Regions from separate parts of the Homo sapiens genome. Here regions 1 and 2 are each linked to region 3. The links are contacts of gene promoters, found by promoter capture Hi-C in blood cells and fetal thymus (Javierre and others, 2016). All regions are on one chromosome and are shown on one strand. The core of a region is centred on a gene start or on the middle of the fragment in contact, and the rest is flanking DNA. Distances in the headings are between cores, read along the strand shown. Region 1 overlaps LOC112268235 (a long non-coding RNA gene). Region 2 has its middle 44 kb from the start of LINC01765. Region 3 holds the start of SLC22A15 (solute carrier family 22 member 15).

What was found. The method cuts DNA at HindIII sites, captures the fragments that hold promoters and counts their contacts. A CHiCAGO score of 5 or more calls a contact.
Region 1: a fragment that was not itself captured here is called in contact with the fragment with the promoter of SLC22A15 in region 3 in 1 of 17 cell types (M2 macrophages); the score reaches 6.4 in M2 macrophages.
Region 2: a contact is called between a fragment that was not itself captured here and the fragment with the promoter of SLC22A15 in region 3, in 1 of 17 cell types (naive B cells). The highest score is 8.0, in naive B cells.

The regions. Positions count from the first base shown.
Region 1 is chr1:116,495,896-116,498,655 of GRCh38, forward strand. The region is part of intron 1 of LOC112268235 (a long non-coding RNA gene); the gene reads left to right. Among named protein-coding and RNA genes, the nearest start is that of LINC01762, 18 kb to the left of the region's middle. The HindIII fragment of the contact is 1,376 bases long and covers 710-2,085 here.
Region 2 is chr1:115,142,020-115,144,719 of GRCh38, forward strand. No RefSeq gene overlaps it. Among named protein-coding and RNA genes, the nearest start is that of LINC01765, 44 kb to the left of the region's middle. The HindIII fragment of the contact is 186 bases long and covers 1,287-1,472 here.
Region 3 is chr1:115,975,262-115,978,034 of GRCh38, forward strand. SLC22A15 (solute carrier family 22 member 15) reads left to right here and starts at 1,252. Exons shown (of 12, transcript NM_018420.3): 1 at 1,252-1,453. The coding sequence starts at 1,367. It overlaps LOC101928977 (a long non-coding RNA gene), which reads right to left and starts at 2,015. Exons shown (of 5, transcript NR_125970.1): 1 at 1,836-2,015. RefSeq lists silencers at 1,099-1,328, 1,389-1,638. The HindIII fragment of the contact is 7,335 bases long and covers 1-2,544 here.

The DNA.
Region 1 (2,760 bases), core at 148-2,647, 520 kb after region 3:
CAGGGGCCACATGGAAAAAAGGCCAGGCAGGGAGGGGCCGGGGCCTCTCAGACTTTGGGCTGGGCCATTTGTGTGATTCCCTAGTTCCCATCCCAGCCAGTGAGTTTCTTGGAGCAGACATTTCCTCTTACTTATCCCCTCTTACAATCCCCACACAGGGCTGGCCACGTTTAGTATGTGGGAGCTGAATTAAGTTTCCAAATCTCATGGCTCATGTCTGTAATCCCAATATTTTGGGAGGCCAAGGCGGGAGGATCACCTGAGCCCAGAAATTTGAGACCAGCCTGGGCAACATGGGAAGACCCTGTCTCTACAAAAATTTAAACGTTAAAAATATTTTTTAATTAAAATTTTGAAATGTCTCCCCTTCCTAGACCCTGAACCTGTTCAGTTCTCAAGTTGACATGTTCAGAGGCCTGGCTGGTAGAGCCCGGGCCTGGTCCCACAGAATCAGCATGGTCCTGAAACACAAGAGCACAGGAGGCAAAGCTGGAAGGGCCCTTAGAGAACCTCTAGTCCAATAGCTTTCAAATTGTAATCCTAGGTACCCTGGGGTCCCATGGTGGAACCTCAGAGAGCAGGAAAAGGGAAGGGCAGAGGCTCAGTGGGAGGAAATGCCGGCCCTCCCCCCACCTCCACCCTTCCTTCAACCAGGCCAGCTCTGCTTTCACAGCTTTGTGTGACTTTCGCAATAACCAAATGGCTTCCAAGCTTCTCCCCTTGCCAACCCCACCCCCAGCCCCTGTCTATTTTCCATCTGGTGTCCAGAATGATCATTTCAAAACATAAGGCTCATCATGTCCCTCTTCTGTTCAAGACCCTACATTTGGCTTTCCATTTCACTCAACAGCAATCCAAGGTCCTCTTCATGGCCGGCAAGTCCCACCTGTTCTCACCCCGGCTGCCCCTACCTCATCTCAGCCACGCTGGCCTCCTTCGTATCCCTGAATGCACCAAGCAGGCTCTTATCCGACACCTGGGCAGGTCTTCTTCCTTCTGCTGGAAACACTCTTCCCCAAATAGCTGCATCCCTTGCTTCCTCTTGTCCTGACCACCCTATCAAAAAAGGCATCCTGTTCCATCAGCCCAGCCCCTTCCTGTACTGTACTGACTGTCCCTACTGAAATATAGGCTCCACGAAGGGGAGGACTTTGTTTTTTTTTCACTGCTATGTCCCCAGCACCAAGAACAACAGTGGCTGGCACATAGTAGGTGCTCAATAAATAATGATTTCCTGATTTAATCAGATTGGTTTTGAGTCTAAAGTTATTTTGTACGTTTTCTTCTTTACACATTTCTCTATTTTTCAAATTTTCTGCAGTAAATATGCATGTTTTTACCATCAGAAAAAGCAGTAAATGACATAGTCTTTTCTCTAGGACCAATCTTTGGGAGACTCAGAGCTGCTAGAGAATAATTTAAGAAGATGAAGGGAGGCCCTGCCTTGAGCCCCTGGTTCTGAGCAGCACCAGGTCGGTCCTGGTAGACTATAACAATACCACTGATTCCTAATGGTGGATGGGGGAACTTAGTGGGGCTAAGCAGACCCCACTTACCTAACAGCATTTTGTCTTGGGGTCACTGGGGAAGGAGAGAGAAGGAGTGAAAACACGACCAGCAGCAACCCCCTCCCCACTGAAATGCACCAGGATCTCCCTAACCCGATACAACAGACATGAGGACATGGGCTCCCAAGCACCCTCCAGTAAGGCATTGTGGCCATAGGTCATTCTTTAACTGGCACAACTGGCTTTTCTCAGACAGACTTTCTCTTTATTTTCTTCAGGGACTATTACTCTGAGGCCTAGTACCTGCTGCCTCTGCTTATATGACTGAATCTAGAACAAAGAAGAAACATCTTAGCTGAGGGGTCAGGGCTCTGGCCTGACAGAAACCCTGTGGTCTTGTCTCCATGTCAGAGCCCCATGACTCCAAGTGGGTGGGAGTCCTGGGCTCGCCCATGACTCATTGTTCGAGTTCGTAGAGAACTCAGAAGTTCCATATGGAAGCACAGCCTCACAGGCTAGAGACAATTCAGGAAACGAAAGCCCCATTCACTTGATTATTGGTTCATTTTCTGATGGAAGCTTTGCTGATCCTCTTTCATAAGGACCATCTGAAATAGACAACTGAAAAGAGAACTAGGGGGCCATTTCCCTTCCCTCCTCTAGCCCCTGAGCTCGGTCATCAGAGTCATGTGGACCCTAGCCCCTGGAGCTGGATAGGGCCCAGGGGTCATCTGGCCACTGTCTGTTTCATTGTGACTTACCAGGCAGGCCCCCTGATACTCAGGGACACAGCTGCCTGCCTCCTGGGCTGACTTTCCTGCAATGCTCTAGAGCGGAGCCAGCCAGCTTCTCCAAGAAGCCGGTGGTAAATACTCGCTCTGGGCACTGTCACCTTTTCTTTGTTTTTTCCTTACAACCCTTTAGAAACATAAAACCATCCTGAGCTCACGGGCTTCACAGAAACAGGCTGTGAGGATAGGCAAAGTACAGCCCATGAGCAAGACCCAGCCCACTGCCTGTTTTTGTAAAATAAAGTTTTAGTGGACACAGCCCTGCTGATCTCTTGATGAATTGCCTATGGCTGCTTCCACGCTACTACAATCGTGGAATTCTGTAGTTGAGACAGAGCCTGTAAGGTCAATAAAGCCAAAAATAGTTTCTATCTGTCCCTTCATAGAAAACATCTGCCAAGCCCTTCTCTAAAGTTTCATATGCATTCGTTCCTATTTAACACTCAAAACAATTTTTGAGA
Region 2 (2,700 bases), core at 130-2,629, 830 kb before region 3:
GGTCCAGGGCAAATGTCACCGCTCATCTGAAGCAGTCCCTTAGCTCAGTGACTCCTCTGGGCAAAACAAATCATGTATCCTCCGTGTTTGTAAAGCACCCAATATGGCAGGTTTATTAGCTTCCTGCTCCATGAGTCTGCAGGCTCCTTGAAGAAAGGCATCATTTCTATCTGCTTCCTGGTTGTAGCTCCAGTGCCTAGCATGGTACCTGGCACATACTAGATGTCCACAAAATGTTTGTTGAATGACTAAATTAATGAATGTATCAATTAAAAGTCTCACCTCAAATCCCTTCATATGGGTCTATTGTGAGGTCCTTGGGGCTCTAACTGAGTCCATGATTTTCTTATTTTAAAAATCATGAAGTGGCCGATGCTGGTGTTCTCAGTAGAAACATGTTAGAGCTGGAAAACTTTCTATGCATTTCTTTTCTCTAAAGCAAAGTGAAGGTGGGGACTCTGGGCTCATTGCTCCTTTGTAATTCCTCTGTATTATACTGAACTGAGGAAGTTAATTTTCCCTGAATACTTTCGGCACTGTAGAATTTGTTTTTTCTCATGACTAACTTAAAGCTATTCTTACAGTTTAGATTTGTTTTGGGTCTTTAGGGGAAAAATTCTCTTGCTTTTTTTTTTTTTTAAATTTCTTCCTTATCCTTCTCAAATTCCATGCTTGCTTAGTCTTGTTTAAACAATTAGATTCACTTTAAGAAAGCTAAAATTAGAGCCACTATGGGGCAGCACTCCTGCCCAGCCAGCCATCTTTTCCTCTCCAGAAGAGCCTTTTTAATCTGAGTCCTTTTGCCAACTGATAAACACCTCATGAGCAGCACCCAGGCCGCGTCTTTCCAAGAGTTAGCTGTTTCTGGATGGAGATGACTTGTTCTTTGTTTAAGGGAGAGCCATTTACAATTTTTTTTTTTCATTGGATTGAAACTCCTGGGCCTGGTGCAGGCAAAGCTGAGAGAGGATGACCGTGGGGCCTAGGTGGATGCCATGTGTGAGCAGAAGACCTGCTTGGGTTGTAGATATGTGGACACCTCCCTCCCTCGCCAGCTTCATTTTTGCCCGAGCCTCAGCTTCCTGTCAGCTGGTGGTTGTGGGCAGGAGGTTACACATGGCACTGAAGCCCTGGAGCCCAGTGGTATCAAGTGGGAACAGAGGTGTCTTCCTAGAGCTCAGGGAAGTCTGAGGACGGTTTATGTGGAGTAACAGCCATCTGGGAAGCTGAATTCAGAAAGTGATTGCAGGGAATGGAAAGGAGTGGTATTTTTGGATCACCTTGCAAGCTTGAGGAATTGGGCTGGACATGTTCAAAACGTATTTTCATTTAGTCCTTGTGATAATGATCACTACCATTTGCTGAGCACTTAGCTTACACCAGGCAAATTACACACATGATTACATTCTGTCCTCAAAATGTTCCCCAGGGAGGACCTGATATTATTTCCATTTTACAGAATTGGAAACTGAAGCTTGGAGAAACTGGGTTTAAAGAACTTGCCCAAGGGTGGGAACCAGACTAAGCTCAACATCCTGTGCCCTCCACCAAGTCTACCCAGGCAGGGGGCTGAGGTCTTGAAAGTCAAGAGGGATTTTCAGAATACCATAAAATATGACCTATTGATTTTCCTCAAATGAGCAAAGAACAATTTCCCTAGCAAACAAATGATTATATTCTGTGCACACATTATTAAACCACAAGCAGCCTGGGGCCACAAAAAAGCCAGGTGTTGAAGGACAAATGCACATTGGTTTCTGAGTTTTTTTCATTAATAGTTTCTACTCATTCATTGTTTTGTCTTATGCTAGTTCTGGCTAACAGGCGAGTGGTAACAGGCACTGAGGGTGGAACAAAAATTGAAAAAAGTCTATATGTTCAATTTTTTTTTAGTGCATCAGGAAAGCTGATAATATTTAAGCAGTGTACCCCCCAGGCGTGCTTCCAGAACTCCACCGTTATTGATTCTGAGCAATACTGAGCGTGAATGTTGAAAGCAGGTGTTTGCGGGGGAAGGCTTGTTCCAAAGAATGATCTTTCTTCTGAGGTCTGACGATGCTGCACACCATTTTATGGGCAGATAATTTATCTCCTGTGTCCTTTTGCTTGAGGTTATTACCAAATTTGAAATGCTCAAGGACACTCTTGGGCCTATGAATGTGGCCTGAGTGTGCTAGAATAGGGGTGGAGGTGGAAAGGTGCTATTTCCCTGGAATTTTAGAAACGGTTTGGGATAATGCCTTAAGTGGACCACTGCACTCCCAGAAATTACCTAGTTAATCATCTTCTTCTTGGGAAGTTCTCCAACAGGAAGACTCACAGACCATCATTTTCTCTAACTTGCAAACATTCTCCCTGGGGGAGAACAAGAGCACTCTGGTGTGTCTTCCTGTCATCATTCCTCACAAGGGCTTTGAAGGTGTGAGCACTGCAGATTCCCACAGTGTTCGGAAGGATAGGGCTCTCTCTGCTTTACTGCTGTTATTATGCACAAGATCAGCTCTGTTGACAAAATCTCATGTGGACCTCCTGTTACTCCCTTCCTTTGGATGGTAAGGGTGGGTGCATGCGTTGGGTGGAGGAATGATACCAAAGCTACAGCAATGCCAGTGCATTTCTCCAAATCATCTCTATTAAGTCTCTGGAGTGAACAGGGACTGGGCCCCAGATGATAAGGCACTAATGAAATGATTGTGCTGT
Region 3 (2,773 bases), core at 2-2,501:
CAATATCAAAAAAACTATTACCATAATGTACCCGATTATCAGATTCAAGAAGAAAAACAATAGGATCATGTCAATAAATGCAAAAAGCACTTATTAAACTTCAGCATTTATTAATAATGAGGATTCGTAGGAAACAGCCAAAGAAGGAAACTTTTTAAACTATTAATAGTACTTATACAGAAAACGTTTCCTTAAGTAAGAGAGAGAAAAAAATCTTAAGAGTTTATAGAGTTTACAGTTTCCAACCCACTGATAAATTCAATTACAGTGAGCATTCATTTAATTGCTAAAAAAAGAAAGCAGCTGACCAGTAAAGCCTAGCTACCAATACGCTGCAACAGACATCACAATTAACGGAAAATTTTGGAAGCATAAGAAGGATACTGGCAGGTCAAGGACACTAGCTGGTCGCCATTTCTATTCAATGTTAAACTAGAAGTCATGGTCTAGACAATGGAATACTATGCAGCTGTTAAAAAGACAACACATAATAAACAAAAAGGCAAATGAGGTTAGGAGGTGGAGGCATGAGGGGACTAACGCAGGTGTCCAGCGTCCCTTGGCCCTGCCACGCTTTTTTTTTTTAATTTCCACCTGACAAACTGCCGTTTATCCTTTAAATACCTTGGCAGCCATCACATCCTGCCCCTTCGTCTTTTGCACTTCCTTTGTACCTCGTGCATACTTCTATAAGCAAATGTATCCGACGGTTTTACAAGAATTTGCTTGCCTACCAGTGTACTTAACCCATGGCTAGCACAGAATAGGACTGGAAAGAAATGCTGCACAGACAGCACTTTTCTCTGAAGGCTCTAGGGCTCCCCAAGCCCCCGCATTAAACTGGTTTGGGCAAAACGACAGGCATTGCTGAGAGCCGCCAGGCCGCCCGCCAGCTGCGGGTCCCCTGTAGGCAGAGCCCTGGGTCACACGCGGACGCGGTCCCGATGTTTCTTCTCAGGCCCTCAGCCCGGCCCACTTCCTCTTTCCTCACTTTAAGGCGCAGACAGCGGTCCCTCTCAAAACAAAACGTACACCAAAACACCATTTTTTTTTTAAACAGGAAGTCCAGAGGCCCGGGTCCAGGGCATCCAGCCCCGGATCTCGAACGCCCTCCTCGCCCCTCGCCCCGCGTAGCCCGGCTGCGCTCCCCGCTCCCCGCCCGGCGTCCACCTCTCGAGCCTGACAGCCCCGCCGCCCGCGCAGGCGCCCCGCCCCGGCCCGGCCCGCCCCGGCCCCGCCGCCAGCGCTTCCATCCCCGCCCCGGCGGGTCCAAGCCGGTGCCGGGCGCCCAGGGGTTGCCGCGCTGGGCGGGAGGGCAGCGCCTGAGAGGGCGGTGGGGTGGCGGGGTTCCTGCGCGCGGCCCGCCATGGAGGTGGAGGAGGCGTTCCAGGCGGTGGGGGAGATGGGCATCTACCAGATGTACTTGTGCTTCCTGCTGGCCGTGCTGCTGCAGGTAAGTCCCCGCGGCCCCGCAGCCGCATTTCCCTCTTCAGGGCCGCCCGGCGCAGGGCTAGGCGTCCGCTCCCAGACCGCCGGGGCCGGGGCCGAGGCCGAGGCTCTGCAAACACCGAGGTGTGGCGAGCGTCGGGGTGGGGCAGGGGCGAGGCGCCGCGCGGTGGCCTGGGCCCGGCCGGCAGCGTCAAGGTCGCCGGCCGGCCTCAGAGCCTCTTGGGTTCTGCTGGGCCCTCCACCCCGCCACCTTGAGTGGTGGAAGGAGCGTGTTGGGGGAGGTTTCTCAGCCGCTATGCTGGTTAAGGAGGGATGCAAAATTGTGTTACCTGCCCTACGCTGTTGCCTATAACACGCTGCAAATATGAAGGGAATTGTTACCCTACCTGTGGCACTGTCACCTTGGAATCTAGGACACAGTCTTGATAATCTGCAGACAAAAGGTTGTGTCTAGGATCGCCTCCCTCTGCGCCGGGTGTCCTCTGCCTCTTTTCCTGGGCTTGAGGGGGCTTACTCTTCTAGGGGCTTTCAAAGCATAGGATTTATTTCCCTCTGGTTTAAGTTCTGCTGGCTCATTCGGCCCTGCGCCAGCCTTGGGCTGAGACTCCCGTGAGCCGAATAGTGCCATCTACCATGTGTGGTTATCAAATGGAATCACTTCTTCATTATAAAGAATTCTCAGAACCTACTTGTACACCCCAGCCTCAAAATATCGATTCCATATGCGAAAGGTCACTACAGATTAACTGCGCCAGGCAAGGATTAGTCCTTCACCAACTTAAATGGCTCATTTGACATTAGTCGCTTCTCTCAATATGCCAGAGGCATTTCATTCACAAATCCTTTCTTAGTATTTGCTGTGAGCCAGCCATTTTACTCTTTCCTTCAGTCATCAGGTTTAATACGGGCTAGGATGTGCTGAACATAGGGATGCCATGGTGGACAAATCATTGACTGCCCTCAGGAGCTTGCATTCCAGTGGCTGCGGGTGGGGCAGGCAGACAGTTAAGTAATTTAGTTAGCATGTGATGATAGTTATTCTGCAGGAAGTACAGAGTGGTCATGGATATAGCCACCAGTCCACAAGTTGCTTAAAGCTTGCATAAGACAGTGGCTCAACAGGAAGATGGGGGAAGGTAGGGGTTGACTTATTGATTAAAATGTTTGGAAGTTCAGTTGATTTCATCATCAGCCAGAAACGGTTCAAATGATGGAGTCAGTTCTTTTTCTAGCCGAACAGTTCTCAGCTCACGAATATGTGGTATTCTGAAGTTCTTTTAAGCTCGTTGTTTTAGCTTTAAACAAGCTTTCCCCAGGGAGAAAA